Linked DNA regions of Homo sapiens: regions 2, 3, 4, 5, 6 and 7 are each linked to region 1. The links are contacts of gene promoters, found by promoter capture Hi-C in blood cells and fetal thymus (Javierre and others, 2016). All regions are on one chromosome and are shown on one strand. Each heading gives the region's core, a stretch centred on a gene start or on the middle of the fragment in contact. The rest is flanking DNA. Distances are from core to core; before and after follow the strand shown. Region 1 holds the start of SMC3 (structural maintenance of chromosomes 3). Region 2 overlaps ADD3 (adducin 3). Region 3 overlaps ADD3 (adducin 3). Region 4 overlaps SHOC2 (SHOC2 leucine rich repeat scaffold protein). Region 5 holds the start of LOC105378480 (a long non-coding RNA gene). Region 6 holds the start of MIR4680 (microRNA 4680). Region 7 overlaps MXI1 (MAX interactor 1, dimerization protein).

Evidence for each region. Contacts are between HindIII fragments. The CHiCAGO score rates a contact against its expected background, and 5 or more counts as called.
Region 2: a fragment that was not itself captured here is called in contact with the fragment with the promoter of SMC3 in region 1 in 3 of 17 cell types (total CD4 T cells, total B cells and non-activated CD4 T cells); the score reaches 5.5 in total CD4 T cells.
Region 3: a fragment that was not itself captured here is called in contact with the fragment with the promoter of SMC3 in region 1 in 8 of 17 cell types (total CD4 T cells, total B cells, naive CD4 T cells and 5 more); the score reaches 11.1 in total CD4 T cells.
Region 4: a contact is called between a fragment that was not itself captured here and the fragment with the promoter of SMC3 in region 1, in 5 of 17 cell types (activated CD4 T cells, total CD4 T cells, naive CD8 T cells and 2 more). The highest score is 6.5, in activated CD4 T cells.
Region 5: a contact is called between a fragment that was not itself captured here and the fragment with the promoter of SMC3 in region 1, in 14 of 17 cell types (fetal thymus, naive CD4 T cells, total CD4 T cells and 11 more). The highest score is 19.2, in fetal thymus.
Region 6: a fragment that was not itself captured here is called in contact with the fragment with the promoter of SMC3 in region 1 in 1 of 17 cell types (naive CD4 T cells); the score reaches 7.2 in naive CD4 T cells.
Region 7: a contact is called between a fragment that was not itself captured here and the fragment with the promoter of SMC3 in region 1, in 2 of 17 cell types (naive CD4 T cells and neutrophils). The highest score is 6.2, in naive CD4 T cells.

The regions. Positions count from the first base shown.
Region 1 is chr10:110,565,653-110,569,603 of GRCh38, reverse strand. SMC3 (structural maintenance of chromosomes 3) reads right to left here and starts at 1,909. Exons shown (of 29, transcript NM_005445.4): 1 at 1,773-1,909; 2 at 591-666. The coding sequence starts at 1,787. It overlaps LOC105378483 (a long non-coding RNA gene), which reads left to right and starts at 2,296. Exons shown (of 2, transcript XR_946318.2): 1 at 2,296-2,571. RefSeq lists a silencer at 1,300-1,589 and enhancers at 1,930-2,029, 2,040-2,089, 2,904-3,606. The HindIII fragment of the contact is 2,181 bases long and covers 1-2,106 here.
Region 2 is chr10:110,093,549-110,097,499 of GRCh38, reverse strand. The region is part of intron 1 of ADD3 (adducin 3); the gene reads right to left. Among named protein-coding and RNA genes, the nearest start is that of ADD3-AS1, 87 kb to the right of the region's middle. The HindIII fragment of the contact is 1,318 bases long and covers 1,014-2,331 here.
Region 3 is chr10:110,118,175-110,122,125 of GRCh38, reverse strand. ADD3 (adducin 3) reads right to left here. Exons shown (of 15, transcript NM_016824.5): 6 at 3,390-3,539; 7 at 2,772-2,915; 8 at 2,562-2,660; 9 at 1-16. Among named protein-coding and RNA genes, the nearest start is that of MXI1, 87 kb to the left of the region's middle. The HindIII fragment of the contact is 2,697 bases long and covers 451-3,147 here.
Region 4 is chr10:110,990,511-110,994,461 of GRCh38, reverse strand. All of the region lies in intron 3 of SHOC2 (SHOC2 leucine rich repeat scaffold protein), which reads right to left. Among named protein-coding and RNA genes, the nearest start is that of MIR548E, 3.6 kb to the right of the region's middle. The HindIII fragment of the contact is 826 bases long and covers 1,230-2,055 here.
Region 5 is chr10:110,219,916-110,223,866 of GRCh38, reverse strand. The region is part of intron 1 of MXI1 (MAX interactor 1, dimerization protein); the gene reads right to left. It overlaps LOC105378480 (a long non-coding RNA gene), which reads left to right and starts at 1,940. Exons shown (of 2, transcript XR_946315.4): 1 at 1,940-2,010; 2 at 2,333-3,951. The HindIII fragment of the contact is 1,513 bases long and covers 1,011-2,523 here.
Region 6 is chr10:110,896,571-110,900,521 of GRCh38, reverse strand. PDCD4 (programmed cell death 4) reads right to left here. Exons shown (of 12, transcript NM_014456.5): 12 at 516-2,494. The coding sequence ends at 2,434. BBIP1 (BBSome interacting protein 1) reads left to right here. Exons shown (of 4, transcript NM_001195305.3): 4 at 1-1,792. The coding sequence ends at 162. MIR4680 (microRNA 4680) reads right to left here and starts at 2,432; the gene lies at 2,367-2,432. The HindIII fragment of the contact is 385 bases long and covers 1,058-1,442 here.
Region 7 is chr10:110,241,632-110,245,582 of GRCh38, reverse strand. MXI1 (MAX interactor 1, dimerization protein) reads right to left here. Exons shown (of 6, transcript NM_130439.3): 3 at 726-755. Among named protein-coding and RNA genes, the nearest start is that of MXI1, 36 kb to the right of the region's middle. The HindIII fragment of the contact is 2,836 bases long and covers 556-3,391 here.

The sequences.
Region 1 (3,951 bases), core at 660-3,159:
CACAACATGCAGGTTTGTTACATAGGTATACATGTGCCATGTTGGTTTGCTGCACCCATCAACTCGACATTTACATTAGGTATTTCTCCTAATGCTATCCCTCCCCCAGGCCCCCACCCCCCTATAACTGGGATTTGAACCCCATTCTGTTATGCTCCAAAGTTTATGCTCTTCCAATCTAGCTACATGGTCTGTCCTTAGAGACACTGACTGCCGGGGTGGGGGGGGAATCCTGGCATCTACTTTGTGAATAAAAATTGTCTGTCTCTGAAATAAGGCAACAGTCAGCATTTTCACTAGGATATATAACAAGAACAGAAGAGCGGAAATGCTTTAAAACACTCTTACACACACATACAAGGCTACCTAGATAAAAAATGGATAACTTATGAGTGTCTTATCCAAACATTTTAAGTTTATAAAAATAAGCAATTCATCAGTGCAATAAGACAGAAAAGTTATTTCACGCAGAAAAATATAACTTAATATTCAAAGACAATTCCTGTCTCCTTAAGCCAATATAGAAATGGACAGAATTTACATTATCTGTATAGACTATAAATATGACCGAGTAAACCAAGAACACTTACCAATCACATTATGTTTTGAACTGAAGGGATCTACAATTGTTTGATCTCTGTAACTTCGAAAACCCTGGATAATCACCTAGTAAATAAAAAACATTTTTGAGAACCCACCCCACAAAAAAAATTAACATTTTTCTCTTGCATTTCTTTCTTGTTTTTCATTTAATGCAATATAGAAAACTCGAAATTTCATATAAGAAAAATTCATTTTGGAAAGTGGTGATTAAAAATCTGCTAAAAAAAAAAAAAGGTACTTTTATCGGTAATCTTTGCCAAGGCAATGCTGCTGGGTTTTATTTTTTTTTAGGAGTTATGCTGTCAACCTGTTAAGGACCTTTCAAAATCAAAAACACTGTGTGAGCTTAACTGAACCCTAAACGCTGCAGTACAATAGCAAGTCTATAAAAGCAGGCCGACGGGCCCCAGCTCTCCTGACTCCAAGACCACCGAGTGCTGCTTTCAGTCACTCACGCCGGCCAGCCTGAAAGAACCCACGTTCCAAAGAAGGAGTGCTCAGAGCCCGACAGACCCAACAGAAAACCGTCTCCAAGGCCGTGTGCCTGGGCTCATCTTTGTGGTGGAGTCCCGCGCGGGAAGACCATTTTGACAGAAGTAAACAACCGAGGGAGGCGGCGCTCCGTATCCTGCAAGCAGGAGGGTCCCGCTCACTTCGCGGGTTAACTGGGGAGAAGAACGGCTCCCCGCAGTGACAGGTGACGACACCCCAGCCAATGCCCCCAGGGCCGCCCCCGGGCCGGGGAAGCCACCTTTCCACACATCCCAGGCACATGGGCCGTGTGAGGCCACCCCTGCAGGACCACACAGCCCTTCCCGCCCGCGGCCGCCCCGGCGGGGTGCCCCCCGCCAGCTCTGGGGCCACCCAGGAAGGCCCAGTCCCTCCCAGCGGCCCGCCCGCCGGCCCTTCCACACCTCTCGGAGATCCTGCCTCTCCCAGACAAGCGCCAGCAGGGAGGCCGGGGCTGCAAAGGAGTGCCCCAATTCTCCGCGACCCCGCAGCCGGGGCACTAGCGGGACCCGGGTCTCCCTCCTCCCCCACAGTCCCCGCCCAGCCCTGGTCCAGCCTGTGGAGACAGGGGAGAGGCTGCGGGTGGCGCCGCAACACTCCCGCCTCAAGGAGCGGCCCTTACCGGCCCATGACGGGGTGGAGGGACGCGAAGGCCTTACCTGCTTTATGTACATGATTCCGGGCCCCTGGCCTGGAAGGAGACCTGCCCCGGAGCAGCAACCGCACGGCCGCAGGGTCAGGTGAGGCGCCTACGCGACCCCTCCCCCAAAGCGCCGCTCGCTCCCCTCAGCCAAACAAAATGGCGGCGCTCGTGGGGGCGGAGTCCGCGCCTCGGACGGAACCACCTTGCAGCCTTCACAGGGCGTAGGAGGAGTCAAGTTCAGGTCTGCTCTTTCTTTTAGGCAAAACCAGTCCTCCACAGCGTTTTTTGGTGGATTTCTTTTGAATCTAGAATTCTGTAGCTAACGCTTTCCTGAGACTTAGTCAAAAGCTTCACTCGGAAAATCTATGACCGTAGGGTTGGTCCGTACCACCTCCGAGCGCGGGGCCAATGGTCGCGTCCACAAAGGGGGAAAGGTTCCGCGCCAAAGCCAAGAGGGAGACTCCGAGGGCCAGTAGCGCCGCGGGCTGTCGGCCACGTGATTCCGCGCTGTTTAAAAAAGCGGACCTCGCGCGCACTGTGCTAGCCTTGGAACACATGGAATGCTGGTGATTCTTGGAATTCTGTGTGCGGAGTCACTGCTGCCCCTTTGTTATCGCTCTCCATAGGAACGTTTACAATCTTAGCACGCCCCAAGCTGGTTACGAATTGCCCACTCGGAGGACAACCCCGAAGGGATTTGTCAATGCTCGAAAATTTGTTTTAATAATGTGATGATTAATTCCGTCGGGAACTGTTTCTGTTCTACCATCTGCTATAAATCTAGGCAGATCTGTACAATTGCAACAAAGATTTAGGTAAGGCTGAAAGCTTTTAATCCACTTTAAAAACAAAAGAAAACAGCCTGAAAGATACTAGGTGCTAGTGGCAACCCTAGGTCTGTCTGATCCTTGTCAGTCTTGGGAGAAAAACATCATTTGTTTAGAAAATGAATCTCTGGGCTGCTCTGAAATTACTTGCTGGGAAGAGAACAAAATAACTACCCAAATCATCCCCAGCCCCACCCCCGCCCGCTGCTGGAGACAATTCTGGCCCTAATTATTTCTAGATTGAACTATTTTTAGTAGCCTCCTAACTGCCTCTGCTAACCAGGGTATCTCCCTAGGAGTCCTTTATCTGGAGCCCGGATCAAATCCTATCCAGCCCTTGGTTTAAAAAAATAAATAGGCCTGGTCGAGTGGCTCAAGCGTGTAATCCCAGCACTTTGGGAGGCTGAGGGGGGAGGATCACCTGAGGTCACGAGTTCAAGACCAGCCTGGCCAGCATGGCGAAACCCCCGTCTCTACTCGAAATACAAAAATTAGCTGGGCGTCGTGGCGGGTGCCTGTAATCCCAGTTAGTCGGGAGGCTGGGGCAGGAGAATTGCTTGAATCCAGGAGGCAGAGGTTGCAGTGAGCCAAGATCGCGCCACTGCACTCCAGCCTGGGCAACAGAGCGAGACTGTCTCAAAATAAATTAAATAAATATGTAAGCATTTTCTTTTCTTTATTTCTAACTTTTTTTTTTTTTTTTGACAGGATCTTGCTCTGTCACCCAGGGTGGAGCTGGAGCATAGTGGCTCGGTCATGGTTCACTGCAGCCTCAAACTCCTGGGTTCAAGCCATCCTCCCACCTCAGCCTACAGGCTGTGGCCACCAAGCCCAGCTTTTTTTTGTTTTTGTAGAGACCAGGTCTCCTTATGTTGCCCAGGCTGGTCTCTAACTTCTGGCCTCAAGCGATCCTCCCACCTCTGCCTCCCTAAATGCTGGGATTACAGGAATGAGCCACTGCACTCAATCTAAACATTTTACTTCTAGATTTTAGTTGTATTATTTAAAGCTTAGGACAGGTATGGTGGTTCACGCCTGTAATCCCAGCACTTTGGGAGGCCCAGGTGGGTGGATCACTTGAGGTCAGGAGTTTCAGAACAGTCTGGCCAACGTGGCAGATAGGATTATCTTATACATCCTGTTTGTAATTCTAAATATGATGGAGTTTTATCATCTTCATTTTATAGACTAGGAAGTGGAGGCTCAGCATGGCAAAACTCCGTCTCTACTAAAAATACAAAAATTAGCTGGGCGTGGTGCAGACGCCTGTAATCTCAGCTACTCAGGAAGCTGAGGCAGGAGAATCACTTGAACCCAGGAGGCAGAGGTTGCAGTGAGCCGAGACTGACACTGCACTCCAGCCTGGGT
Region 2 (3,951 bases), core at 423-2,922, 470 kb after region 1:
CTATTTTTGCCAACTCTTTTGTAAGTCTGAAATAATTTCAAAACAAAGCACAAAAAATCCAAAATATATACATAAACATTAATCCAATATAAGACAAATCCAATCTCAACACAGTCAAAGGAAAATATTAATACCACAATTTTCAGGGCCCTCCTGAATTTTATAGTATACCATGTTCTTTCCTCACCAAAGAATTTTTAAAAGTTTGCTCACAGGTAAGATAGGATACAAAACACACTTACAAAAAGAAAACCCCCAAACAATACCTGAGCTATTAAACAAAAACAGTCATACATATGAAAGCTATATTCCCAATCCACTTAGATTAATATAAGAACCCTCAAAACTCAAAGTAACAGAGGTAGTAACATTGTATAACTGTTAATATACTTAAACAGTATCTGACATATGCTCATACCATGTATTTTGTAAAGCTGTTCATTATCAAATTAACCCAAAGTGTTCACAGACTGAGAAAAATACCCCTATGTTCAATTCTGAGCTCACCAGCACTGCTAGTGCCATTCTTGCCTATCTTACAATCTGGGTTGCTTGTATTCAGGTCCACTTGTAGAGCCCTTTCCACCTGAGTTACCTGTTAGATGCCTCTAGATGAGCTGGACTCCTGATTTGGGCTCTGTGGTACATCGTTTTTCAAAGACGGCCTCAAGAATTCTTCCATGCTTCCCTGCGATCTACTTTTTCCACTAAGAAGTAGAGACTATTTTCCTATCCCTTAAATCTGGTTTGGACTTGTGATTTGCTTTGACTAAAACAATGTGGCTGAAGTGACATTATACACTTTGAGGGTCGTGCAGCTGCCACACCATGAAGAAGCCCATAATGAAAAATGAGGAGAAAGAGGCCCAGCTGTCCCCAGTAAGCCAGGTTCCCAGCAGACCCCCCCCAGCTAACTATCGCAACATGAATGAGTCCAGGTAAAAGCAGGTAAGGTGCTACTCAGTCAACATACAGAATCATGAGAAATAATAAATTGTTAAACACACAAAGCTTTGTTTTTGTTGTTGTTTCTGTTTTTCACACAGCAACAGATAACTAAAGTGAAAACTGGTGTTACTGGTGCTGTAATAACAAAAACTGAAAACCTGGCATTAGCTCTGGGGCCTAGGCAGTGGGGAGGCTATTAGTGGAGGCTGACAAGGCAGTGAGGAGACTGCTACTGGAGACTGGAGAGAGGGTTATGTTGCATAATGAGAGCACAAACTAACAAGAATGTGTTAACTTGAAAACTAGAAAACATGCTTAACGAATGTGGAGCTCACTAAGATTTCTAGGTAGAATGCTGAAAGAGCCAACTGAGTATTGTTTTTTTCCAAAAAAATATTTTTATATAATAATCTATAATAAATAACACAGACATCCCTTATGCCCTTTTCCCCAGTTTCTCCCAATGGCAACACATTGCAAAACTATATTACAGTATCACAACCAGCACACTGACAGTAATATAGTCAAGAAGGAGATTATTTCCATCACCAGAAGTACTCCGCATGCTGCCCTTTAATAGCAATGCCCATTTCCACTCCCTCCTTAATCAGCAGCAACCACTAATCCATTCTCTATTGCTATAATTGTCATTTAAAGAATATTATACAAATGAAAATATGCAACATATAAAACCTTTGGGGATTGGCTTTTTTCACTCAATCATTTACTGAACATTTGTGGAGGCTGTCATATCAATAATTTGTTCCTTTTTACTGTTGAATGCTATTCTATGGTATGGCTGTATCATTATTTGTTTAATCATTTGTCTACTCAAAGACAACTGGTTATTTCTCGTCTTTGACTATTATAAAATTATAGCATATTTTTTCATTAACAGGAAAAAGTAGAAACAACCCAAACATCTATCAACTGACAAACACAAAGTATAGTATTTTGTCATATGGTAATCCAGAAAGTGGAATATTACATGGCAATAAAAGGAAATGGAATACTGATATGTGCTTCAGCATGGATGAACCTTGAAAACATTGTAAGTGAAAGAAGCTAGTCACCAAGGACCACATATTGTATGACTCCATTTATATGAAATGTTTAGAAAAGACAAATCTATAGAGGTAGAAAACAGATTAATGGCTGCCAGGCACTATGGGAAAATGAGGAGTGGCCGCCAATGAGATTTATTTTTGGAGTGATGAACATGTTCTAAAATTATTGTGGTGATAGTTGTACAACTCTGTGACTATATTAAAAACCACTGAATTGTATACTTTATATGGCCAAATGGCATGGTATGTGAATTATCTCCATAAAACTGTTATTTTAAAAATCCAACCTGAGAAGCTACTGACCACCTTGCAAGCTTGGGAATGGGGACTCTCTTGTAGTCCTCACAATGGGCGAGAACTCCATAAATGGGGGCTGAATTAAGTTACTTTACTATATCACAACTCCTTCCAAATAAATCTGGTTTGCATTATTTATAGGCTGGGAATAGTAAAAACAATCTTTTGAAAAGAAGTTATTACTTACAAAAAAATCTTTCCAAACTTAAAATTCTTGGCAGTTTGAATAGCTTTCTTTAGAATAAGCAAAGAGATGGCTGTACTTTCAACTACCAGACCTATTTTTCCACACTTCAAAGAATAATCAAAGATATGCCAAGACCGCAAAGCAGCATATTTGGTTAAAAAACAAAACAACAAATGCTATTTCAGTTTTTCTTGATGAAAGTTACTATGAAATTTTAAAGTTATTTGAAGTTCTAGAAAACAACTTAGACCCTACACAAACTATGACAAGCTACTATCCTTAGATCACTAGTGAAATTTTCTTCATTTTAAGTTCTAAAAGACATGAGCTGCTTTTAAATGCTAGCCAAAATTTTATATACAACTGACATGGAAATTGACAGATCTGAAAACTTGAAGCAGAAATAGATAAAAATGAAGAAAAATGGGAGAAAAAACCCAAATGAACCTGGCATTGAGCAGCACTGAGTAATACAGATGGCACTAAGTGCACAAATGGAGAAAAACTTAATTATCCCACAAAGCACTAGGCTCTTATTCCTAAAAGGCTATTGATTTTATATGAGCTTCTCTTGAAATATTTCAGACTAGATTCAATGATCACTTTTTACAGATGAGAGGAAACTATACTCAGTGGTGTTGAGTGACTTTTCTAAAGTTACATTGCTCAAATATCATATTATAAAATCATAATAATGATGTTTATTAGCATTACCATGTCATCCAGATTGCCCCATAATCAAAATTTACTCCTTCAATGAAATATAAGAAAGAAAACAGACCCATCACGCCATGTTTATGGATGTATTTTATAAATACCATCCACTGAGAGGAACAGGCTATTAAGAAGAACTAAAATTCTAGTGCTTGTAATAGACTTAATGGTCCGTTTGCCTAGCATGCACAGAAAAATAGATGTACAAGTGGGGTAGTTGTATAATGGTGGTTTATTTGACCTAAATACCAAAGGGACAAGTTTTAAGTACATCATTAAATATTAAAAAGTACTCACTAACATTTTATCAATACAGTAGTTCCCCTCCTTAACTGCAGTTTCAGTTACCTGTGGTCAACCACTGTTCAAAAATAGGCGAATATAGTACAATAAGATTTTGAGATACAGGGAAAGACCACATTCACATAACTATATATTTTTCATACATACACACACACACCCACACACCATAAAGACACTTAGTATCTTTGCCATCAGTACTTAGCAAAACATATAAATAAGATGCATAAAGACAAAGAGTATTAGGAGATGGGCAGATGAAGAAGCTCAATGAGCAGGCAGATAAATGGTATAATAAAATGTCATGGAACATTCCACACAACTTTGAGTTCCAAACAAAAAGGAACTACATGCAAGGTACGGACCACTAAATTGACTCAAGTCCATCTGAAAAGGAGACTACGTTGGCTATTGATCAGTATATAGGAAGTCTTAACT
Region 3 (3,951 bases), core at 550-3,049, 450 kb after region 1:
CTGCTAGGGCCTGCACCTGTAATCAATGGTAAAATATACAGAGACACAAAACTATAAAGACTGTAATGAGTATTTTACTTTCAAAAAGGCACAATTTCAATTTGGCAAATATCTATAATACTTGCTCAGGCTACTAACAACAAAGACAAGATGACACTCTTGTGCCAGCAGACAGCTGAAGTATCTTTTCCACCTATCTGAAAAAGAAACCTTCCAAGACTCTGATCCTCCCTGATGGAAAACACATTAGAGCCATACCTCTTAACATATTTTAAGCCACGGAATTCTGCTGCCAAATTTTAAATTTCTTTTCTTGAAGTTTTCCCAGGGTTATCCAGTTAATACTTTTGCTAAAAGCTATAATTTTAAGGAAATACAAAAACACTGTACTTTGAATTTAAAGATATTTAGGCAGAAGCCATCAGCTCATTATCTTAATTTAATTAAGCTTTTCATAGCCCCATTTGAGAAGAGGAGGAACCATTAAAGCAAAAATAAGTTGATTGTTAGGACAAGTTAATGTTGGTAGAAAAAGTTTTTTTTTAGTTGTTCTTTTCCCCCTTTCTTGTGGCCCTTCCAATAAATTAAGATTATTACCATTTGCTTCATGAGAATTTGCTTTATTTATTTATTTATTTATTGAGGACTGAGTTTCACTCTTGTTGCCCAGGCTGGAGTGCAATGGCACGATATCGGCTCACTGCAAACTTCGCCTCCCGGGTTCAAGCGATTCTCCCGCCTCAGCCTCCCAAGTAGCTGGGATTACAGGCACATGACACCACGCCCTGTTAATTTTGTATTTTTAGTACAGACGGGGTTTCTCCATGTTGGTCAGGCTGGTCTCGAACTCCTGACCTCAGGTGATCTACCCAGCTCAGCCTCCCAAAGTGCTGGGATTACAGGCATGAGCTACCGTGCCTGGCCAAATCTGCTTGATTTAAAGAGAAAATTAGGGCCTTTAGTTTAATTAGATCCCATTTGTCAATTTTGTCTTTTGTTGCCATTGCTTTTGGTGTTTTGGACATGAAGTCCTTGCCCATGCCTATGTCCTGAATGGTAATGCCTAGGTTTTCTTCTAAGGTTTTTATGGTTTTAGGTCTAACGTTTAAATCTTTAATCCATCTTGAATTGATTTTTGTATAAGGTGTAAGGAAGGGATCCAGTTTCAGCTTTCTACATATGGCTAGCCAGTTTTCCCAGCACCATTTATTAAATAGGGAATCCTTTCCCCATTGCTTGTTTTTCTCAGGTTTGTCAAAGATCAGCTAGTCGTAGGTATGTGGCGTTATTTCTGAGGGCTCCGTTCTGTTCCATTTATCTATATCTCTGTTTTGATACCAGTACCATGCTGTTTTGGTTACTGTAGCCTTGTAGTATAGTTTGAAGTCAGGTAGTGTGATGCCTCCAGCTTTGTTCTTTTGGCTTAGGATTGACTTGGCGATGCGGGCTCTCTAGTTCAACCATTGTGGAAGTCAGTGTGGCGATTCCTCAGGGATCTTGAACTAGAAATACCATTTGACCCAGCCATTCCATTACTGGGTATATACCCAAAGGACTATAAATCATGCTGCTATAAAGACACATGCACACGTATGTTTATTGCGGCATTATTCACAATAGCAAAGACTTGGAACCAACCAAATGTCCAACAATGATAGACTGGATTAAGAAAATGTGGCACATATACACCATAGAATACTATGCAGCCATAAAAAATGATGAGTTCATGTCCTTTGTAGGGACATGGATGAAATTGGAAATCATCATTCTCAGTAAACTATCACAAGAACAAAAAACCAAACACCGCATATTCTCACTCATAGGTGGGAATTGAACAATGAGATCACATGGACACAGGAAGGGGAATATCACACTCTGGGGACTGTGGTGGGGTGGGGGGAGGGGGGAGGGATAGCATTGGGAGATATACCTAATGCTAGATGACGAGTTGGTGGGTGCAGCGCACCAGCATGGCACATGTATACATATGTAACTAACCTGCACAATGTGCACATGTACCCTAAAACTTAAAGTATAATTAAAAAAAAAAGAAAAAGAAAAAGAAAATTAGGGCCTTTAAATACATTCAACATCTCTGATGAAAAAAATGATTAATAAATATCCAACCTCTCATCATAATGAGGCTGTGGAATTGTTGAAAACTGCAATTTCATATAACTTCTGGACCTAGTCAAACTTTTTACAAAAGTGACCACAACACATTTGATTCTTGATTTGCAGCTGTTTTTCTTCCTTAATTAGTACCACCACTACAGGGTGAAAACAGAAATATGCAATTGTACTAACTTAAAAAGCAGGATTGTAGGGAAAATGATGTTTATGAGGCCCTTAGATTGTGTGTGAGAAAATTTTAATTTCCTTTACTCCTATTTTCAATTCAAGAGATAACTGAGTTGAAAACCCTGCCTACATAAGTAGAGCAGAACTTCTCTTAAAAGACAAAAAGCCACTAACTAATATGTATTTGCAAATAAGTACACAAAATCCAACTAAACGAGCAAATAACAAAGCAATTAAAAAAGGGGAATAATGTTTCCTACCTGAATCTCACAGGCTAGTTGCACATTAAAAATATAATGAAAAGCCTCCTCTAATGTTTCTCCAAGTGCAACCACACCATGATTCCTGAGTACCAGCACCTAAAATAGAATGCCCACAGCAATCACTTGAAATAACTGGCATAGCTCACACTGTTTTCATCAACAGCAGCAGCAACAAAAATAGCTCCTTAGACAAACTCTACTACATACCTTACAACTTGGTCCCAGAACCTTCTGCAGTTGAATTCTCTCCTCCTGTTCTTCAAGTGACCCTTGGTAGTCATAATAGGCAACATCTCCCAGAAGAAGAGACTCTTGAGAAATTGGAAGGATCCCACATTTCATGGAGGATACCTATTTGGTTTGGCCCATACCAAGATAACACATTTGGTTACTAAATACATTTTCATAGGAACCTGATTGTTTGGTCAGCTCAGGAAAACACTGGCCTATTCACTGTGTTTCACCATTGCAGCCCACTTCCCACTTTATTCACTTCCCATTTTGTTTCTTCCACACACACACAAAAAGGACTTAGGGAATACAACTCAACTTATATGCTGTGTCAAATATTATGAAAGAAGCTTTGCTCCAAAAAACTCAATGACCCAATTTTCAAACTGGTTAGTTTTAGAATCCAAATGTTATTTCTCCAGTTGTTTCCTAGAATGGTAGCATTTGGTCCCAAAGGCCTTTTGCTTTCTGGGTATGCAGATTATTGTATCAAATATGATTTTGAAAAGCAGATAGTAAAGCATCCTGTTGAGAAAGCCACAAAAATAATACATCTTCCAGCGTCCTGTCAGTTTTGGACTTTCATTGACTTACAGCTGCTGTTGCAAGGGTATGGATGTGTATCACACACTTAACATCAGGACGTGTTGAATAGATTGCAGCATGGGGACTGAATCCTGTATGGTCAATTTTCAAATTGGTACTTCCCTGGTCAACCACTTCTCCTATTATATTGACTTTCACCTGGAAAAAATCAGAAGGACATATTTAACTGGTATATACGTATCAAAGTTTGTGTTTCACAAGCTAAACCAGGGGGTAGCAAACCTTTTTGTAAAAGGTCAGATAGCAAATATTTTGGACTTTGTGGGCCTCTGCTGCAATTACTCAAATCTGCAGCTGCAGTACAAAAGCAGCCATAAACAATCTGTAAGTTAACAGGTATAGCTTTGTTCCCATAAAACTTTATTTATAAAACAGGTGCAACAAAACTTGGTACTTGGCAAGAAGTACAGTTTCCAAGAAAAGGAGAAACTTAAGCTCTTCATCGGAGGTCTGAACAAGTCTGGCATGTATAGAATTGGCTAGAAAACTTCTATTTGCTAACATTGCAGCAAGCACCCAGAACCAAGGTAGCTCCTGTCACTCTGTAAGC
Region 4 (3,951 bases), core at 393-2,892, 430 kb before region 1:
CTAGACATGTATCTTTGTGCACATGTGAAAATATTTATGTGTCAGATGATATAGATATTTAAAATTTTAATAAATAACAAAAGGCTATATCATTTTTATTTCCACTAAGAGTGAAGAATAGCCCCCATTTACTCACATCCTTGTAAAATGGGGAGGGATGGTATCAACATTTTATCCCTTGCCTATTCCATTCCTATGGCCACTGCTACAGCAAGGCCAGCAGAAGTGAACATTTTCCTCCAAGTAGTGATCATGTCTGATTACAAAGAACTTCAAAACCTTCTGATAAAATTTTAATTTCCTGTATGCAGCTGCAGATAAAATGAGGCAGCTAACCTTTAAAAAAAAAAATGGAAGTAAACAAGACCATCCCTTTTTCTCCTTTACATCACTGCTTTCCCTATGGAAGAAAGTTGATCCATTGTAACAAAATGGCTGAATCTTTCACCAAGGGGTCTTTGAAGTCTGCCATAAGAGGGGAGAATTTATTAACAGAGAGAAGTCTCCATGATCTTACTCCATCAACTGACATGCCTCATTCAATAACCCTTTACAGTATCATGGTAGATAAATACAATATTTTAAATGTTTTTTATTCTCACTGAAAACTAAAAAACTTTCTGTGGTAACAAAGGTTAGTAGGGGAACCAAATTCTAAATGTTTGTCAACTCAAAAGCCTAGTAAATAGAACCAGATTCTTGAAATTTCTCATCCAAAACCAAATAACTCTTAAGTTTCTCACTTTTAAAACCAGAGTAGGTTCCTAGAATTTAAAAATTACAAAATAAAAATAATGTAGCCAAATTGCTACATGACATTATCTAGTACCAAAACCAGTAGTAATTTAAATTAAAAGGTACCTCCACCTTTCTTGGATCTAAATTTTTTGCTTTTTGCTGGGGCGGAAGGGGTTGAATTTCTAACAATGTAATCTATGAGAATAGGCTGTTCTGATGAAGAAATCTCACATTTGCAAAGGCCCTATCACTTGAGACCACTGGCAAATTCAAAGAGTCATCCACATTTTGCCAAAGTCCATTACTCTCAGCTAAATAAAAAAGGTTAAAAAAATTAAGGATGAAATATCAAAACTCTTTTACGCCAGAAGAAAACATCAGAAGTCTGGCATTTATTGTGATTCACCCTCTGCAGTGGTTTCAGCTCTAACCCCTCTCAATGAGTGGTTTTAACCACAAACTAAACTGCAACCTAGAAATCAACACAAGCTTGCTTTAATGTTGAGCCATCTTGACTAAGAAATAAAATCATTGTTGCTGAGCTCCTGTATATAAACGTAGGCTGATCACTGCCAATCACTGGCATTTAGCTTTCAAGTGCTTAACTTTGTCTACAAATTGTTCTGTGCTCCACTTTGACAGCTTGCTTTCTCTTACGCTGTCAGATTTTTAAAATATGGTGAAATCAAATGGCTATGAATTAAAATTAGATTCTTTCAATTTCAGCAAATATAACCAGCAACTTTAGTTTAATTTAGTATAACTTTCGAGTAAGACTAATTTAAATGATCATAATCTTATTTTAACAAAGTAGCAAAAAAAATAGTAGGAAAGACTCAGGGTTGGAAGGATGAAATGTCAAAGGTACCATTATTTTTTCAGAAACATTAAACTGAAAGCAAACTGAAAAGTAAGCAACACAGAAATTCCTGAATGTTAAAAACCCAAAGAACACCACCATTAAAAAGAAAACTAGTAAAGTTGTTATACATACGCTGCACTGTAATTACCTAAAACCCAATTACTAAAATGACTAAAATGCTACTTGTTGATATAACCATAATTAATGTAACATTTCTTCAGAGCCCAGTGCAACAAAAAGGCTTCTGTGAATTGTTCTGCACTCCAGCCTTGAAGGCAAGGTTTTGTGGCACAGTTCTCTCCTAATCTCATTTTGAGAAGAAATACAAAGTAAAGTATTTTTTCCTACTTCGGACTGTTTCTTCCCTGGATTACATAAAACTACCAGAGGTACCAGAAGGCTTTAAAAAACATCAGGTTCATACTTTAAAACAAAATAACTGTTGGAATAAAGCTTAATATTTTCTTCTGTTCATAGCTAATTTCTGAATGAGAAAATATTCATATAAAATAATACTTTTTTTATTCAACAAGGCAGACTAACAGTTAAATCAGAGAAACTATAAATATGTATTTAAGCACTCTCTTACTTAACTGCAACTTGGTAATCCCCAACCCATTTCCTTCTGTCTCTTCCTCACATCCTATGAGTTGTCAGCGATACTAGCTTCTCAGCCTGGAAGTAAATGGCAGTAATTATCACAGGGGAGTGATAGTTACTCCAGGAATGTTCATGTTAAATAAAGAAAAAAGTAAAAAACATTCTGGTCTACTTATAAGAAAAAAGAAAAAAAGGAAAAGGCAAGTAAATACAGTGATTTCTGGGAAGTGATTTTAAGACAATACAAGATTTGATTTTCAGTTACAAGTTTAGGGCAAGATTCTTTAGTCCAAGGAAAAGAGAGTGGGCAGCTGCTTCCAGACTAGCATCAACTCTGCAGAACAGGTGTTGGGCTTTCTGTTTGTTTTTCATTTTAAGTTATACTTTCTCAGAACTAGAGTAGGATTTAAAAAAGGAGAAGTATCAGGAGAACCATAATTCAATTAAGTTTCCACTACTTAGGGTAAATTCTTCATCTTCAATAAATGAGAGTGAAAATCTCAAAGGTCAATTAAAACTGTTGAAATTTTTAACAGACCAAGACCCAAACGTCAAAGTTTCCCACCAAACCTCAATCTTCTGCTACATCATCAAAATACTAGGACTGGAAAGGATGGAGAAAGATAAAGTAATTATTTTAATAAACATGGTAATCGATAAATGACTACAATATCATAAAAAGTTTCAATAAATATTACTAATTTACTTTGCCATTTACTCAGAGTAACAGCTGTACTATACTTGGTGACAACCATCAAAGCATATAAAAGTAAATGCAATGTTATTTAAAATTTTCTTGTTGTTAATGTTTCAGTTCTCATTGATTTCCAATTTGTAATACTGTAATCTGGCCCTATAGAATAAGCTAGAGGTGAGGCATATGTGTTATTCTAGGATAACATCTAAACTACAAGAGATTAATAATAAAATCAAATGTTTTCATATTAGTAAACACACTTAAAACACAGAAGAATTACCTCCAATAGGACACTAATCCTACTTACTAGAAGACTGTATCATATATCACCACCTATGCTTTCTCTGTTTACCAGGATTATTCATTTCAGTACTTTAATCGCATGCCCCTTTGACTGTTATTTAACAAGTTTGAGATACAGACACATATATAAAAATATTAAATAATAAAATATTGTTAGACTATTTGAGACAGAGAAGAAGGCCGAATGAAAATCATGCTATATATATCTATCTGATCAGTTGAAGGAGCAGGCAAAGTTACACAGATATTTAGGAGAAAAGAGTTCTAAACAGAGAGATGGGAAGCACAAAGATCTCAAGGCTAGAATTTACCTGATATGTTCAAGAAACAATAAAATGTCTAGCATGTTTAATATCCTAAGATATACATAGTGACTAAACATCAATGAGAGGGATAAGAAAATCACTTGATAACATTTCAAGTATCTTAAATTTTGGTTCTCCTGTCTGATTTGCAGTAGAGTAAAGCAACATTTTGTTGTGTTTTTTTTTGTTTTTTGTTTTTGTTTTTTTTGAGCAGTAGCAAGATTTATTGCAAAGAGCGAAAGAACAAAGCTTCCACAGTGTGGAAGGGGACCCGAGTGGGTTGCCAATGCTGGCTCCGGCAGCCTGCTTTTATTCTCTTATCTGGCCCCACCCACGTCCTGCTGATTGGTAGAGCCGAGTGGCCTGTTTTGTCAGGGCGCTGATTGGTGCGTTTACAATCCCTGAGCTAGATACAAAGGTTCTCCACGTCCCCATCAGATTAGTTA
Region 5 (3,951 bases), core at 518-3,017, 350 kb after region 1:
ATGAGAGGTGTTCGCAAGCCACAGAAGAACTTTTTTTTTTTTTTGTAAAGGCTTTCAAAAAGGGACTGTTCTTTTAGCTCTTGACTAGGTCGTTTTGGATCTGGACTTTCCCAGGTCATTTTGGATCTGGACTTTCCCACTGGGTGTTGGTAACAACCTCCCTTCACCCTCAACAAGGGCCATGTTGGGTAGGGGTGGGACTGGATTATTTTAAAGAAAATACCATTCATTTAGAACATCTGTTAGTTGAGGGTAGAATTTATTTATTTTTTATTTATTTATTTATTTATTTTTTGAGACGGAGTCTTACTCTGTCACCCCAGCTGGAGTGCAGTGGCGCGATCTCGGCTCATTGCAACCTCCACCTCCCGGGTTCTCCTGACACAGCCTCCCAAGTAGCTGGGGTTACAGGCGCCTGCCACCACGCCCAGCTAATTTTTTGATTTTCGTAGAGACAGGGTTTCACCATGTTGGCCACACTGGTCTCAAACTCCTGACCTCGTGACTCGCCCACCTCAGCCTCCCAAAGTGTCCCTGGCCAGGACAAATACAACTCTACTTTTCTCAATAGGAGGTAAACTTGTGTGACAAGCAATCAAGAAAAGTAGTACAAACTGAAAATATACATGAATTCAAGATGGCTTTAATTCCAGAGGTCACAGAACCATAGCTGGTTAGGAAGAGATGGCTACATGCAAGAGGCCTGGGGCCTATGCATGGCCTTTCACAGTTGACCTCCAGGTGAACTAACCTAGAGCCCTTCTTCTAGAGCCATGGCCAAGAGGGAGATGAGGACATGGAAAGTAGAGCGAGACTCACCAAAAGGCCACCTGCATTGAAGAAGGGGAGAGATGATGATCATGGTGGGCAGTATTAAGGGCTGGTTCATGTACAGAAATCTCCAGCCTTTTCTAAAAGCAATTGAAGTGCCACTTCCTTCTCCCTGCGCTGGCTGCCTCCTGGAGTCCTTCCTTGGACATCAGCTATAAGGGCCTCTCCAGCACAAAGCTTAGGGCTCTATCCACAGGAAAGTAATGCTACCCACAAACCATCCCTCAGCAACAGTCTCAGCCCGGAGGAACCCAGAGGCAGCCATAGCCTTTCTTTTGTTCCGATGAACTAGTTTGCACTACAAATGCAGATGGGGAAACAGGAAAAGCAAGGCTTCCAAAGTCTACTGACATAAGAACCTGGAATCCTACCCATAGTCTCTGTTCTGTCCTCTCCCTAAAGTATATCTCTCTCTCAAGGGAGTCATTTGAAAATGGAGAAAGTCCCCCAGAATACCCCAGGCCTATAACGATCACAGCCACGGATGGGGACAATCTGCCTTCTGAAGGAAGCAGGCAAAGCCCTCAATTCTTAAGGGTCCTTTCTCAGCACAGTTTACTTAGTGACAATTTCCAAGTGATTTATTGCAGATTCATAAACAATGGAGGCTGATGTGTTGTATCTTTTCTTCAGGGAGGCGAGATGGGGAGAGAGGAAGGGGCCATGAGGTTAAGTTACAAGTCCAAAGTTACTGTGTTGATGACACCTTGCACTTAGGAGAACTTCCCTGAAACTGCAAAGTGTTTACTGAGTAGGGCACTGTTTTCTGCAATTATCTTTAAGGATGGGCGTTTTCAAATAATCAACACTGGGGACACGGGAGGTGAACTCTAAGCTCTTAAATGAGAACCGTTAACAGTTATACATTTTTCCATCTCCCATCCCAAAATGACTACTGCAGCCTCCTCCCCTCCTCTTCCCCCAGAGCCCAGAAACGTGAAGAACAGCAGAAAACCTTTCCCTCGCCCAGTGAGTCAGCCTTGCCTAAGTTCATGCGTAAGCTCTCCTCAAGTCAGCGGCAGCTCAGAGCTGCGGGTCTGTGTGCAGCCGAGATAAATTTGGGTCTAGAAGGGATGACGTAATGCTAAACCCGAGAGGTAGCTGCCGCCTCCCAGGGCTCCTGTCGCCAGGGCTGCCGGCTGACATCCCAACCACACGGAAACGCACCAAGCGACTCAGGTGCTGCCCGAGCTGGGGAGAAAGGGAAAGGACATGGGGTGGGGGGAACGCCAGGGGGAGGCAGTGTTTATCTGAGACGGCTGAATCTGGAAGTTTGTTGCTTTTTAACTCCAGTTTTACTGGTGAGATCAGACCACTGGCAAATGCTCAAACAGCTGCACTTGACTTCCATCCTGACCCATCTCTTCCCTCTTAGAAAAGGGCTTCTTACATTTTATTAAATGGCCCTTATTACAGCAGCCTATTTCAGTGATTATAATGGATGTGTTAATCTCTCAAATGTCCTTTTCCTTCTTTTTTGCATGAACTTGGATCCAAGAAGACATCTGCATTGCAGGACTCAATTAACATGCACATCTAAGCGGCTTGCTTACTTTGGAGCACCCCACTTGGGGTGACACCAGGGTGCTACTGATAAGGTATTTGGGAGGATTTTGCTAGGGCCATGCCAAGTGAATATTTCCCCAAATAACATTTCAAGGTTTATGTCATAGAAGTTTGTGTCATTAAGCTTGTTTCTCAATACAGTCCCCATTTTTCACTTGAGAAAGCTGAGGCTCAGAGAGGTATGGTAACTTGCCCAAGGCCAACAGCTGTCTATCAAACTGATGGAATAAGGGTTAGAACTCAGGCTTTTTTAAACCCGTGGGGCCCATTCCTTTAAATATCAAGACGAAGTTGCATTCCCAAAGGATCCAAATGCTGTTTTTTTCTGTTTATGGTTCATTCTTCCCCAAGGAAAGGTTGCCATCAGAGTCAACTCCTTCACTCCTGGTGATGACCGCAAACCTTGGGCCCAACCTCACCCTTCCACTATAATTAAAAGACCACCACAGGAAACAATCTTTGTTGTGCCGAAGTAGTTTTCTTCATTAGAAATGCCTCCCAAATACTTTTCAACATTTGTTAGTGTAAACACATTTTATTCTTTAATTTGTGCCTGTAATCATTTATGCTGGTAGATTTTGTGACTTTCAGCAATATCTGGCAAATAACCTGGTCAGCCACGGTGTGTTATTGTTTTGAAGCACTGTTCAGTTCCAAGAGTTGATATTTTTGTTTAGGATTTCTGCATCTATATTTGAAAGCAAAAGTAAACTGTATTTTTTGTTGTGTTTCCTAGATGTTGGTATTGCAATAGTCTGTTCTTTCAAAGTTAGATGTAACTTGTTTTTAAGGCCTTCTCCTGCTGCTAAGAGGATGCCCCACATTCTTGCCAAAGCCCTGGGTAACCCTCCCTCCCCTGCCAGGAGCTGGCCTCGAGTTGCCCTGCCCCCACCCCTTGGCATCACCACCCTTTTCCAGGCAGCAGAAAGTTGTGGAGGTCACAGTTAGGTCTAGCCAGGCCCTGAACACTAAACCACACAACCAGCTCCTGCTGCCTTGTATCTGCGTTCTCTCAGCCTCAGATGCAGCACTTATAATAAAAATACCATTCTCTTGCCTGTCCAAGGTATAGCTGATCTCACCAGCTCTTCCAGCAATAGTGTTTTGATTTGAGGAAGCTGGGATTGTCCCTAGATCCTAGAACAATACACATCCATTTGCCTACTAGCTGCCACATAACTAGGGCCAACATGCACGGTGCTGCTCCTCCAGTCAGTTCATTTAATCCTCAGCACACCTCTGAGATTCCTATTTTACAAATAAGGCCCAGAAAGGATAGGTGATTTGCCCAAGGTCACACAGGCTATGAACAGATTGGAACTTGAATTTTCTGACCCTTGGACCCTACAGCATACATCATGTTATGTTCAATCGCGTCAGGTCAAACGAAATTGGTTAAAGCAATGGTCTCAACCAAGGGCAATCCCATCACACTAGGAGGCGGTAGAAACATTGTAGGAGTGTCTTTTTTATTGTCACAATGACTGGGGGCGTTCCAGTGGCGTTTAGTGGGTGGGAACCAAGGATGTTAAATCCTGCCATATTCCAAACTAA
Region 6 (3,951 bases), core at 1-2,500, 330 kb before region 1:
CTGTTTGTGGAAGATATAATGACAATGGTGCTGTGTAAACCCAAACTTTTACCCTTAAAATCTCTGACTCTGGAAAAACTAGAGAAAATGCATCAAGCAGCACAGAATACAATTCGCCAACAAGAAATGGCAGAAAAGGATCAACGGCAAATAACCCACTGAATGATAACTGAGCACTTTAGGGAACAACCTGCCTTATCTACTATTTAACAATAACTAGAAAATATGCTTCTGTGTGCTGAAAGTAGTATGTGTTATCAATAAAATTGATAGTATTCATAGAAATACAAAAATATCCAAGATTGATGAAATTTGTATTGTGAATGTAAACACTCTGGTTTGTATTGAACATAAACAGTTAAACTATGAACCAAGTTTTATGGGGTTTAAGTCATGTTTTTAGAATTGCAAATTAAATTATTTGTTCACCATTCCTATTGCTATCTTTTATAGATAACATTCTTGGGATCTTTTATAGCATTCTTGGGCACAAGGGATTAAATACAACTTTTATATACAGAGGATCTTTACATGTTTATTAAATCTGAATTTGAAGATACATTCCAATCTTGCATAAAGTGTTTGTTGGGCTTTTACATTACGTAATTAAAAAACAAAATTTTTTAACCAATTTTATGTGCCATGTCACGTTTAATGCTATCTTGTGTGACCAGATCCCACCAGTAATGACAAAACTGTCTTAAACCTCATTTTTTTTTTTTTTTGAGACAAGAGTTTCACTCTTGTTGCCCAAACGAGAGCAATGGCACCATCTCGACTCACTGCAACCTCTGCCTCCCAGGTTCAAGCAATTCTCCTGCCTCAGCCTCCCAAGTAGCTGGGATTACACGCATGCGCCACCATGCCTGGCTACTTTTGTATTTTTAATAGAGACAGGGTTTCTTCATGTTGGTCAAGCTGGTCATGAACTCCCAACCTCAAGTGATCCGCCCACCTCGGCCTCCCAAAGTGCTGGGATTACAGGCATGAGCCACCGTGCCCAGCCCTTAAATCTCATTTTTAAGAAACCCTCACCTATTCTGTAGTCAGCTAAGCTTTTAATTACATTAATTTTAAGCACTTGAGAATAAAATGACTGCATTTATCATCCAAGTGTCAAACAATTAAAAACCTAAAAATGGTAACTATATATAAGCTGAGGTAATATGGGCTTGATAAAGCCCATGAGGTAAATATGAACACTAAACTTGGTTTTAATTCTAACAGACTATATCTAAACCTGTAAGCAGTATACTCCTAACAGTACCCTCATAAATTCTGAATATAATTCTTGTTTGCTGCAGTCAATATTTGGCAGTTTAAATTAGCACAGACGTTGAGGCCTTGCTGAGTTATTAGGCTATGTAAAAGAGGTTAAAAATATGATCATTCTTTATTGTTAATTGGTAATATTTTCTCATACATTAGGTAAATGTCAAGCTTTGGGTCTCTGGAGTATAACTTTTTGTAACATTAGCCATTATTTGGTAACAGAATTTAAGGATGATGGAATGATGGAAGGTATTACATATTTCTAAAACTTAATTAAGCTCTAGGTCAGATAACAATGGAGTAAAGTGATACCTGCATTTTTTTCCCCAGTGTAATCTTAATTTACTATTGTATTTTTCACTTAAAATTTTGTAGGGAAAAAAAGTTTTCAAGGGAACACTAAGATTAAATTGACTAGGTTCAAATATGCTTCCTTATGAGATTCAAAATTTACTGTGTGAAATTAAAGTTTAAGAGACCTAAAAAAATGTACTCCCAATAAAGAATCAATACTGCTTCACATGTTTTATTTTGGTGTACATTCTTCTAGAACCAGGTTCATTTTTCCAGTTTTGTAGAAAAATAGATGTTCCAGCCACCTTTTACTTAACTGTCTAGTCTTTTAAGACCAATCAGTATGTTCCCTGGAAAGATGAATAAGTCTCATGACTAATTTTTTAAAAATTCTTTAAGACAAAGAAATAACTTTCTTTTTTTACTCCCAAAGCACAGTATCTCAACAGCAGCAGCCAACATGGGGTTTTAGCAGCTTAACTTTACCCCCTAAATAAAGCTTTGTATAAACCAGTGATTTTACTACAAAAAACACTGTCCTTGAAAGAAAGGAGTGGCAGTCAGACATCAATGCAAAACTTGGAATGATTAGATAATAAACATGGCACTTACAAAAGGTAGCTTATTAGAATATTCCACTTAAGAAGAGGTTACTTTTCTGTCCCTCCTTGCCCCCTCGAAAAACAAAAAAAAAAGAAAAAACATTTCCTTTAAAAATTCCCCTTAAATGTAGGTTTATAAAATGTCAGAAATGCCTTGTACCCAAAACAAGTGCTTAAAAAAAAAAAAAAAAAAAACTTGTGCTAACAACTCTTACAATTCAGATATATATTTTTATAACATCTAAGACTGCAAGAGTTCTTATATTCAGTAGCTCTCTGGTTTAAGACGACCTCCATCTCCTTCGCTTACAAAACGCTTTCTGCCCCTGTAATGAAGAAAAAAAAAGACATGAAAACAGATACAAATTCTGACTATAGTCAATATATAAAAAAATTAAAAACTTGGTATTTTTTCGTTACGTGTTAGCTTTTAAAGGGTTTTCCATTAAAAAAAAAAAGCATGCCTCTAATTCCTTTGGAAAAGACTCCCTACTATATATCTTAGCATAAAACATCAATATCAAATCTGAGTTTTTGTTTTAATAAGTTCACTATCCAAACAGAGTCACATTAAAAAAAGTTGACTCAAACTAAAACATTTTATTTAGAAATTTAAAATTATTTCTAATTAATTTCTAATTATTATTTGTAAGCTTAACAGTAAGCCAAATAGGAAACACTAACATAATTCAGAATTATGCAAACTGGAGCTGTGCAACCTATCAAAATATCCATGTTTGGCAATTTAAAAAAAAATGTTTTATCAACTGTAGAAAAGCCATAACTTGAATGTGGAAAAAAATCAGAATTACAGCCTATGCCCCATTTTGGGATTCGTGCTTTGTCAAACTCAAGAAGCCCTGCTCTATAATGTAACCACACTCTTACCTACATGTAGTGGCAATAGCCCAGAAGGAACAGCTGGCCAGTGGCCTAAAGCAGTAAGTGGGAAATAGAACTTAGGCAACATTAGCCCTTACTCTCTGACCCCAGGCCAATAGGCACAAGCATGCAAAACCACACACAAATGTGCACCTTACCCAAATAGGCTAAAAGATGAAGGACCCAAGTCAAAGCTGTATGGTATGTATACACAGAAAGTTTATTGCCTCATGTGACCCTTGAGAATAAAGCCACACAGAAACAATCAGACTTTCAAACAGAGGCTGAAAAACTTTCAAAAAGCCAATGCCAGGGTACTGGCCCCTTTTCATATTAAGTCTAAGTGGAAAACAGCTACATCATCTTGAACATAAAGGCTTCAGACTGTATGAGACCAAGGTAGGGAATGAAAAAGCAGTCAATAATAAGAAGGCCAAAGTTCAGAGTTTTTACTGATGTATATCACTTGGCACATCCATACATAAATCCTGCCATCACCAAGCTAACGTCTGTATTTCCAAACATTTCTAGTAAAGCTATTAAACTATCTTTCATCACTTTCTTTTCCCTCTCTTTTAATGGCTTCTAAAATTCTAAAGCAAAGGCCCCTACCAGGAAATATTTTTCTGACTTTTAATTCTTACAATGCACTTAAAAATATCAAAGCTTAAGAAATTTTCCAGATAAAAAATTATAAGAACTTAAGATTATATAAAACTGACCCACACAAGCAAAAAGTTTAGCTATTACTAAACATTTATATTATTACATTATAAGCTTCATTATTAGCTTTAACAACAACAAAAAAACTTACCAACTAGTAGCAAAAATATTAATAGCTCCAAGGAAAATCACCCACACACATACACTTTCCAGTGAGAACATCCTCCACACACCCCCC
Region 7 (3,951 bases), core at 724-3,223, 320 kb after region 1:
TATAGTCACACTGAACCTTTTGCAGTTTCCTCAGTATACACTGCTCACTCACCATCCTCTGCAGAACTTTCCAAGACTCCCTTCAAAAAGGTATCAGGTGACCTTCTAAAATATCTTTCAGTACCCTCTAGTACCTTCTGCTTCTCCATTACCATACTTACCACATTATATAGTACTTTAATTACCTGTCTTTCCCTTACAAAGTTCTGAATTCCTTAAGGACAAAAACTATCATATATATTCTTGTATTTCCTATATAAAGCATTCTGCCTGCCTGGCACTGACATACAGCTCATGTTTGATAAATAGTTGTTGAATGCATGAATAAATGAATGAATGAATGAACAAATTACAAAGGAAGAAAAATTCAATGCCCTCCAATTTGTAATGCTTATTACCTACTCTTTAGAAATCCTACCCTTTAGCAAAACTACATTTAAACCATGAGCTTGTAACAATTAACTCATTTTCAGAGACAGAAATAAAGGCTATACCTAAAACTCAAATTCGAGTAAGCTTTAAAAATGTATTTATGTCTTCTAGCTGCTATAAGCTTACTATTAAATCATTTTTTGGAGAAAATACATATATATCAGATTCACAATGGGCTATACATCTGAAAAATAAAATTACAACTACATATGCACTATTACATTATTTTCACAGGTAAAATGGTGAGTTTGCTTTTAAACGTAAGTGAAAGCTGTACCTCATCACTGACTCACCGATTCTTTTCCAGCTCATTGTGTGTAGATCTAAAAGACAAAAAAAAAAAAAAGCATTAGCCATGCTTTGTTGCTAAAGCTATAGAAAGACAGATTAGTTACTGCTATGCTACACCTAGTGAATTTATTTAACAATGCAACACATGGTCAGACTTCTACAAGCTCACTCATCGAGAGGAAATAGTCTACATTCATTAGGATTGTTTATACAAATATAGTATTTTCAGTTAACAACTCTTAACAGTCTGAAACTGGAGTTTCATTGTTATTTTAATAAAAGTAATACTAGCACATGTTCTCCCTACTTCTAGCATCCTAGATTTTGTTGATCTGCAGATGTTATATAAGAAATTTTAAACATAATCCTGTTTTTATTTAAAAAGGAAAAAAAAAAGTGGGTGTACTTCCATGTCCTCCTCTATCTCCATCTACCCACTTCTAAACAGAGAAAAAAAAGTTTTGGCTAGCATAGAAGCTGAAAAAGGCTTGCGTTACTGCTTAGTGATACAGGCAAATCCAAGTCTTCCCACCTTATTTTGTGAAACAAAAACAAGAAAAAGTTATACATGAAAGAAAATTAATATAAAGAAAAAATATATTAATAAAATCAAGAAACGTGTTTTACAAGACTGGATAACTCGAAATGTTAGCAATGGTTATTGTTTAGTTTTGGTGACTTTTTTCCTTTTGTTTCTCATTATTTGTTTTAAATGATACCTTCTATTGAACAAGCACAGCATCTGGGGAACAGTGGGATAAGCAGTTAATATATCTTATTTTATCCCTAAAACAACCTTTGTTTTATAATCAAGAATACTGAAGCTCAGAGAAGTCAAGAAATATACTCCTCTCCCAAGAGTATAAAGTGGCAGCCATGATTTCAATCCAGGTCTATCTTAACAATCCCCAAATCTTAACCACTCAGTGAGAAGCAATACTGAACAGAGGTTAAGGGCACAGACTCTAAGGCCAAACTGCCTGAGTCCAAATACTGTATGGCCTCAGTAAAGTCCCTTCATTTCTCTGTGCTCGGTTTCCTCATCTATGAAATAGGAAAAATAACAGTATTTGCCTCATATGATTGTTATAAGGACTAACAGGTTTATGCTAAATAGCAAAATATAATGAACTCTAAAGTTAGCTACTATTAGAATTGTTATACTAGTTCCCTAGAATTAACATGTGTTACTTTTGCAATAACTTAACATTAACAACAACAGGAATTTTATGAAGGAGAATTTAAATTCCTGTCACTAGAACTAAAACTTTAATCATTTTGTAGATTCTGGTTAATGTCAAATGCTTAAAGAATATTTATGGCTTTAATCTGATTATTTCAATGGATATTTAATAATCAGATTCTCAAACCTTAAAATTAAGAGTGCTTTTGCTGGTCTCATAATTTGTGTAACTTTTACCCACTGTCTTAGCTTAAGGGCCAAAAGACTTCTTTGAGTTACTGTCTCCTATCCACCTTTTGCTTCATGAGTAATTTCATCAAGTCCAAGAGACATGAAATGAAAAAGACTGATATTCATTTAAAAATATTATCTTAACAAAAGGACTTCTCCTTTGAGGGAAGTAAATAGAGTCTTATGATGTTTCAAGAATTCAGATAGAAGAAACTATAAAAGCACAGTCAGAAATCCTAGTTTAACAGAGACTCGGAGCTCAAAATTCAATAAATTATAACCACAGTGTGCCTTTATCACCATAAAAGTGTTTAAAATTTTGTTAATCTTTGTTTGAATTAAATGTTAATCAGTCAAGTTAGAAGAGGGAAAAGGCCTATTTAAAGACGTTTAGAAGAAAAAATATAATTCAAAATTTGAATAAATAATCAATAGTAAGATTCCCCACCCCCACTGGTGAGCAAGTTTTGGTTTAATTGCCTCTCTCTGAGAAGAAAACTAAAAACAAAACAAAAAGACAATGCACATATAAAATACTACAGTAAGTAATAAATGGAAACATTGTATTTAGAGAAGAGCAGACTATTTGCCATAAACTTATTCTAAACAGCCATAAACTTATTCTAAACAGTCTGGCAATCCCACTGACAGCCATCAGTGCAAGAGATAATATACTCAACAATAACCAATTGTTGAATTCCAATATTATATTGAGTCTATTATCAAAGCTAGCTCCAAAAGATCATAATCTGACCCACTGCTGTGAACAAAATTAAAACAGCAGGTTCTTCCTGCCTGCCAAACAGACATTTCTTTATTATCTTTTTTTAAAGAAAATGATAGCTAAGATTATGAACCTTTTCACCAAACCAGGAAATGCATGCCACATTTAATTATACCACCAGCAAAATTTAGCAAGATTTTCAAATAACGAGAAGCAAAAATGATCATAAATATACAAATCATTACCATGTTGCCATGTTCTTCCAATTTTTTTTACAAAAGCATCAATAGTGTTTACTCCTATTTTGATGGGTTTTTACCTGTAATGTCAAGTCAACAAATACTGAGTACCTTCAGTGTTCAAGGCTGTCTTACACTACAGGAAATCAAAGACAGTCTCCATTGGGTAAATTAAGATATGTTTAGCAATAATTATAACTGAAGGCAAAATAAATATACAAAGAAAGGTACAAAGTATTGTGGGAGCTCAAAAGAGACAGTTTACTTCCAAATGGCACTGTAAGAAAAGCTTTAGAAGGGTGGCATTTGGTCTAAGGCTTAAATAATAGGTACATTTGCTACTAGTAGAGTCTGAAACTGTTAAGGAGATGCCATTCCAAGTGGAAGGGATAAGATAAGCAAACAAGTCGAGTTGTGAAGTCCAAAGCAAAACCAGCAAACAACACAAAAAGATCATAAAGACCCATGGTGTTAGAGAAAGAAAGTCATGAATCTAAATATTAACTCTGTCACTCACACAGGCTGTGTAACTTTGAGACAAATTATTTAACCTCGCTGGTTTACAGTTTCCTCATCTGTAAAACTGGAGTATTACACATGCCTTGGCCAGGTTACTGTGAGAATTAGAGAAACAGATGTAAAAACATCTAGCTCCTAATAAGTATTTAATAGATGCTAGCTACTGTTAGTATTTTTATTACTTTTTTAAAAGACTAAAATTATGTTACCCAAAACGTTATTAACTATACTACATGGGACAACAAATTGATAGGTTCTCAATAACACTTTGAATTAGCCTGGAAATAAGCAAACAACAACCATAATGATGGAAAGAGAAACTGAAAGAAAAG